Regions from separate parts of the Homo sapiens genome. Here region 1 is linked to region 2. The links are contacts of gene promoters, found by promoter capture Hi-C in human tissues and cell types (Jung and others, 2019). All regions are on one chromosome and are shown on one strand. Each heading gives the region's core, a stretch centred on a gene start or on the middle of the fragment in contact. The rest is flanking DNA. Distances are from core to core; before and after follow the strand shown.

Region 1 (3,425 bases), core at 398-2,897, 310 kb after region 2:
TGAAGAAAGTCATTGGTAGCTTGATGGGGATGGCATTGAATCTATAAATTACCTTGGGCAGTATGGCCATTTTCACGATATTGATTCTTCCTACCCATGAGCATGGAATGTTCTTCCATTTCTTTGTATCCTCTTTTATTTCCTTGAGCAGTGGTTTGTAGTTCTCCTTGAAGAGGTCCTTCACATCCCTTTTAAGTTGGATTCCTAGGTATTTTATTCTCTTTGAAGCAATTGTGAATGGGAGTTCACTCATGATTTGGCTCTCTGTTTGTCTGTTATTTGTGTATAAGAATGCTTGTGATTTTTGCACATTGATTTATTATCCTGAGACTTTGCTGAAGTTGCTTATCAGCTTAAGGAGATTTTGGGCTGAGATGATGGGGTTTTCTAGATATACAATCATGTCACCTGCAAACAGGGACAATTTGACTTCCTCTTTTCCTAATTGAATGCCCTTTATTTCCTTCTCCTTGTTTCAAACACAAAGATATATTTAAATCCTGGATACCCGAGACAAATTTAGAAAAAGGTACATTACTACTAAGAAAATAAAGAGTAAGATTTTGAATTTATTCATTCATGGGGATGACAAGCAGTTTTTTTTTTTTTTTTGAGACGGAGTCTCGCTCTGTTGCCCAGGCAGGAGTGCAGTGGCGGGATCTCGGCTCACTGCAAGCTCCGCCTCCCGGGTTCACGCCATTCTCCTGCCTCAGCCTCCCAAGTAGCTGGGACTACAGGGGCCCGCCACTACGCCCGGCTAATTTTTTGTATTTTTAGTAGAGACGGGGTTTCACCATTTTAGCCGGGATGGTCTCGATCTCCTGACCTCGTGATCCGCCCACCTCGGCCTCCCAAAGTGCTGGGATTACAGGCTTGAGCCACCGCGCCCGGCCACTGACAAGCAGTTTTAAATGGTGATAGAAAATGGCCGTAGAGAGTGAGTGAAGAGCAGGAGGCGTATCAGCAGTCAGCAGATAATTGAGAGAATCACATTTATTTTTTGTTTGTTTTTTTGAGATGGAGTTTCCCTCTTGTTGCCCAGGCTGGAGTGCAATAGTGTGATCTCAGCTCACTGCAACCTCCACCTCCCGGGTTCAAGCGATTCTCTTGCCTCAGCCTCCCAAGTAGCTGGGATTACAGGCATGCACCACCATTCCTGGCTAATTTTGTATTTTTAGTAGAGACAGGGTTTCTCTATGTTGGTCAGGCTGGTCTCGAACTCCTGACCTCAGGTAATCCACCCGCCTCGGCTTCCCAAAGTGCCGGTATTACAGGCGTGAGCCACAGCACCCGGCTGAGAGAGTCACATGTTTGAGGAGATGGAACAGTACAGGTGAAAGGTTTTGGTGAAAGGTTTGCCTCCCTGTTGCAAAGATACGTGTAGTTGCCTTTAGGGCCCACTTGGATAATGCGGGATAATCCCCCATCTCAGGATCTTTAACATAATCATACCTGCAAAGTCTTTGCCATAGAAGGTCACATTTGGAGATTCCAGGGATAAAGACATGAGACTTTGGGGCCATTATTTAGCTAGCCTACTAAACCCCCCAAATCTATCTACAGATTCAGTGAAATTCTGTATTGTAAATATTTTTAAATTTTCTGTATGTTATGATGTCATGACATATTTTAAAAAAGGTTCAGGCAAGGGAAAGACTGACTCCCTCAGGGCCAGCCAATTCTTAAAAAATATCAAAAGGCTCAGTTAGCAGCACTTTTTTTTTTTGAGACGGAGTCTCACTCTATTACCCAGGCTGGAGTGCAGTGGCATGATCTTGGCTCACTGCAGCCTCTGCCTTCCTGGTTCAAGCAATTCTCGTGCCTCATCAGCCTCCTGAGTAGCTGGGATTACAGATGTACACCACCATGCCGGCTAATTTTTGTATTTTTAGTACAGACAGGGTCTCACCATGTTGGCCAGGCTGGTCTCAAACTCCTGGCCTCAAGTGATCCGCCCACCTTGGCTTCCAAAAATGCTGGGATTATGGATGTGAGCCACCACGCCTGGCTAGGAGCACACTTTTGATATGCAAACTAATTAACCCAGAGCCACACTTCTTTTATTTAGACCATATACCCAGGAAACAATATTCCTCTACCTTGATCATCCTGGGTCCAGGGACCAGGCAGCTAGAGACCACTCCTGCAGCCCAAAGCTGCTCAAATTCATCAAACTAGCCAACCCTAAACAGTGCACCCTGCCATGTCTTGCCTTTCCTGGGGAAGCCCTACTAACAGCAGTGGCCTCAACTTTCCCCTGGCTCCTGTGTTTTGTGCCTGATCACTCTGGTGTCTTTCCCAAGTGGCCCTGTATAGCCTCCTGTCTCCAGGACCTGTGAACATAATAAACATTGTTTTGCTAAGCTTTGCCTGGCTCTCCTCTTGTGACTGACCATCTCATAAAATAATTACAAAGCAAATTCCAATCAAAATCCTGGGAGAATGTTTTTGGTAGAAATTGACAGGCTGATTGTACATTTGTATGTAATTGTAAAGGACCTAGAGTGGACAAAATAATGTTGAAAATAAAGAACAAAGTGGGAGGACTCTCACTACCTCATTTCAAGACTTATTTTAAAGCTACAGTCATCAAGACAGTGTGGTATTGGCATAAATTTAGACACACAGATCAACGGAACAGAGATGAGTCCAGAAAGAGACTCAAACACGCGTGGTCAATTGATTTTTCACAAAAATGCCAACAGAATTCAAAGGAGAAAGAATAGTCTTTCCAACAAATGATGCTAGAAGAATTAGACATCCATGAGGAAAAACAACTAAAATGCTATTATCTGGTGAACAGGTAAACAAATTGTAGCGTACCTAAACAATGGAATCCTACTGACCGATAAAAAGAAAGAAAACCACTGATCAAACAACATGATGAATCTCAAAAGCTAAATGAAAAGCTAGGCACAGAAGACTATATATTACATGATTCCATTGTTATGGAATTGTAGAAAAGGCAAGACTATATCTACAGAAAGATCAGTGGTTGCCAGAGCCAAGGCATGGGATTAGGAGATTAGCTGACAAGAGGCATAAGGGAAGTTTTGACGATGATGATAACATTTTGTATCTCAATTGGGGTGGTGGCGATGTGATTTCCGTCATTTATCACAACTCAAAACAAACACTTCAAATTGGAAAATTTTAGTTGTATGTAAATTGTAATTTTTTTTTTTTTTGAGACAGGGTCTTACTCTGTCACCTAGGATGGAGTGCAGGTGCAATCTTGTCTTACTGCAGCCTTGACCTCCTGGGCTCAAGCAATCCTCCCACCTCAGCCTCCTAGAGTAGCTGGTAGAGCTACAGGCACATACTACCACTCCTGGCAATCTTTTTTTTTTTTTTACTTTTGGTAAAGATAGGATTTTCCTATCATTCCCTGGTCTCGAACTTCTGGGCAATCTTTCTAACTTGGC
Region 2 (3,354 bases), core at 535-3,034:
CTTTCTTCAACAAATATTTATCGATTATCCACGATGTGCCAGGCCATAAAGATTAAGTATTTTTTCTCACAGACCTCATGAGCTTAGAGTCCACGAGGAAAAAATATTAGCAAGTAATTATACAATAAAGCCTGATGCACATGAAGGTCAGGGAACAGTATGCTTAGGGAACATCCAGCAGAGGCCTAGCTTAGTTGAGGGGGGTGGGAAAAGGCAGTCCTCACAGAGGAACTTTTTTTTTTTTTTTTTTTTTTGAGACGGAGTCTCATTCTGTCGCCAGGCTGAAGTGCAGTGGCACAATCTCGGCTCACTGCATCCTCCGCCTCCAGGGTTCAAGCGATTCTCCTGCCTCAGACTCCCGAGTAGCTGGGACTACAGGCACGGGCCATCACGCCCGGCTAATTCTTGTATTTTTAGTAGAGACGGGGTTTCACCATGTTGGCCAGGATGGTCTCGATCTCCTGACTTTGTGATCCGCCCGCCTCGGCCTCCCAAAGTGCTGGGACTACAGGCGTGAGCCACCGCGCCGGGCCGGACCTCTTAACCTACATCTAAACAATGCCTACCAAAGGAAGTATGGAGTAAAGAAAGGTATCTCAGTATTAAAAGAAATAAGTTGGCTGGCGAGGTGGCTCACGCCTGTAATCCCAGCACTTTGGGAAGCCCAGGCGGGCGGATCACTTGAGGTCAGTAGATCGAGACTAGCCTGACCAACGTGGTGACCCGTCTCTACTAAAAATACGAAAATTAGCCGGGCGTGGTGGCAGGCGCCTGTAGTCCCAGCTACTCGGGAGGCTGAGGCAGGAGAATCGCTTGAACCCGGCAGGCGGAGGTTGCAGTGAGCCGGAATCGCGCCACTGCACTCCAGCCTGGGCGACTGCTATGTCTCAAAAAAAAAAAAAAAAAAAAAAACACGTTCAAATAAGTTCAATGTGGCTGGGGCAGAGATGCTAGAGAAAGCGGTGAGAAACTAGGAAAGGTGGGTAAGGACCAGATAATGAAGACCTTTGCAAGCGTTCCAGTGTGAAGCAACTTTAACATCTAAAGCAGAGGTGTCGTGATTAGAAAGACGTTATAGATCTTTGTGGATCTGGGCAAAGGAAGAGTCCCCGAGCAGCAAAGACGCTCCTGGAGTCGTCCAGGTTAGAAATGACGGTGGCCTGCACTAGAGACGCCGCAGAAAGGACTGGAGAAAAATACATGTTAGTCGGAAAAGAAGGTAGAATCTCCCGACACAGTAGTGACCAGCTGGAAGTAAAGTTGAGAACGGTATTGGTGGTGACTCCCGGTTTCTGGATCCCGCCGGTAGCCGAGGGGCGACGGCCGACCCAAAGCTCACCTCCCCACTGCACGCCGCCCCTGGATCGAGTACCTTGGTGCTTTACTATTTAGCACACGGAAGTGTTGTTCTGTTGTCCGTGTCTCCTTGGAGACCGTGGAGAACAGAAGGGCCGGCGGGGGTTTTCGCTTTGTACTCCTGGTGCCCAGCCGGCGCTGCAATCCAGCAGAGGAGCCGGACTAGAAACGCGGAAGCTCTGGGTGCACGCGCCCGGCCCGGGACTGGGCGGCCCAACCGGGAGGGCGGCGGGTCCTGCGGCCACGCAACAGGCGTTGGGGAAGCAGCAGAGACCCTGCGTGCGCGCGGGCTTCGGCCTCCAGATTCCGCAGAGTCCCGGGCCCGATCCCCCCGGGGCTGGCCTCCTGCCCTACGTGGGCCCCGCGCGCCCACCTGGAACTCACGATGGCGAATCCGTGGTCACCTGAAGGCAACAGCACCGGCGCCCAGTGCGCCTGCGCCGCGCGTGCGCAGAGCCCTCGCCTCCCGGCCTCGCCTCGCAGACGCGACGGGCCGGGGAGGAAGCGCTCGGAGCAGTGCAGGTTTCGTTATCCTGTGTTAGGTCACTCCGGAGAGGGGAAAGCGGCCCACAGCGTCGCGCGACCCGGAAACGACACAACGAGGCCCAATCTTTTAGACTCGAGTTTAGGCCCCGGGGTGGAGTCTCCGGACCGGGTCCCCCCACCCCCGCTACAGGGGCAGTGCGCAGGCGCGAGGTATGTATCGCGAGACCATGCGGTTGCCCGGGTAACCAGACGCTCAGGACTTGGACCGTCCAGTTGTTCGGAGGCCAGCCTATAGCCAATGGTATCCCGAGGGCTCGCTCTCTCCGGGCGTTTGTGCTCCCCTCTCTCTTCTAACCCAGTTTCTACCTTTCAGTGCTTTGGAATCTTAGCCCTCTGTCTCTATTCGCTTTTCTGTATTTGCCTTGCCTCAGGGACGCACAACCCCAGCCCCTGTCCCAGTGAGCCCGTCGCCATGGAATCCCTGCAGACTCCCCAGCACCGCGAAAATCAAGATAAAAGGGAGAAGGAGTATGGGGTAAAACACATGCCTATGGGCAATAATGCAGGGAATCTTGAGCCCGAAAAGAGAAAGGCAGTAAGAGTTGCCTTGAGTTCAGCAACAGCTGCACAGAATATCCCGTCCAGTGTCCACTGTGGCTGCTCCAAGCAATGGAGACTCAGGCTACCATCGGAGTCGCTGCAAAGTCGGGGACAAGTGATGAAGCGGCCGAATAACATTTTAAAGCTCAGGAATCTGGATCTGTTGATCTACCCTTGGCCAGAACTTAGAAGACGGCAGGTTGCTTCTGACCTAATGAGCCTCCTCCTTCTCCCCGCTTTTTCCGGCCTTACTTGGGCCCCCTTCCTTTTCCTCTTTACGTATCTGCCTCCTTTTCTCAATCTCCTCACTGTTGGTTTTGTATCCTATTTTCTGGTATAGTTTCTGTGATTTCTTTCTTTTATTTATTATTATTATTGTTGTTGAGACAGAGTTTTGCCCTTGTTGCCCAGGCTGGAGTGCAATGGCGCGAACCTGGCTCACTCCAGCCAGCGCCTCACAGGTTCAGGTGATTCTCCTGCCTCAGCCTCCGGAGTAGCTGGGGTTACAGGCACGGGCCACCAGCCCAGCTAATTTTTGTATTTTTAGTACAGACGGTGTTTCACCATGTTAGTCAGGCTGGTCTCGAACTCCTGACCTCAGGTGATCCGCCCACCTCGGCCTTCCAAAGTGCTGGGATTACAGGCATGAGCTACTGTGCCCAGCCTCTATGATTTCAATTTTCATGTTTAAGTACCTATGTAGAACCTAACTGTCCATAAGTAAACACAACAAAAAAAAGATTTGGCTTTTGGTCAAAGATCATTGGAGGTTACACAGGGTAAAGTGCAGTATGATTTTTATCACAATTAGAAAGATTAAAAAGAGATGACAGTGAGTTTGTGAGAACAGGTTTGTGTTTCATAAAATGAATTGTGTGAGTTAGCTATGATGAACTGCAAGCAGCTTGCATT

Evidence for each region. Contacts are between HindIII fragments. The study calls those that stand out against the background at their distance.
Region 1: a fragment that was not itself captured here is called in contact with the fragment with the promoter of RPP38 in region 2 in 1 of the 25 tissues and cell types used here (mesenchymal stem cells).

The regions. Positions count from the first base shown.
Region 1 is chr10:14,790,416-14,793,840 of GRCh38, reverse strand. No RefSeq gene overlaps it. Among named protein-coding and RNA genes, the nearest start is that of FAM107B, 17 kb to the right of the region's middle. The HindIII fragment of the contact is 5,190 bases long and covers 1-3,425 here.
Region 2 is chr10:15,095,785-15,099,138 of GRCh38, reverse strand. RPP38 (ribonuclease P/MRP subunit p38) reads right to left here and starts at 1,784. Exons shown (of 3, transcript NM_183005.5): 1 at 1,373-1,784. RPP38-DT (RPP38 divergent transcript) reads left to right here and starts at 1,820. Exons shown (of 2, transcript NR_160789.1): 1 at 1,820-2,052; 2 at 2,274-3,354. RefSeq lists enhancers at 1,077-1,216, 1,277-1,366, 1,668-2,239 and a silencer at 1,507-1,866. The HindIII fragment of the contact is 8,419 bases long and covers 104-3,354 here.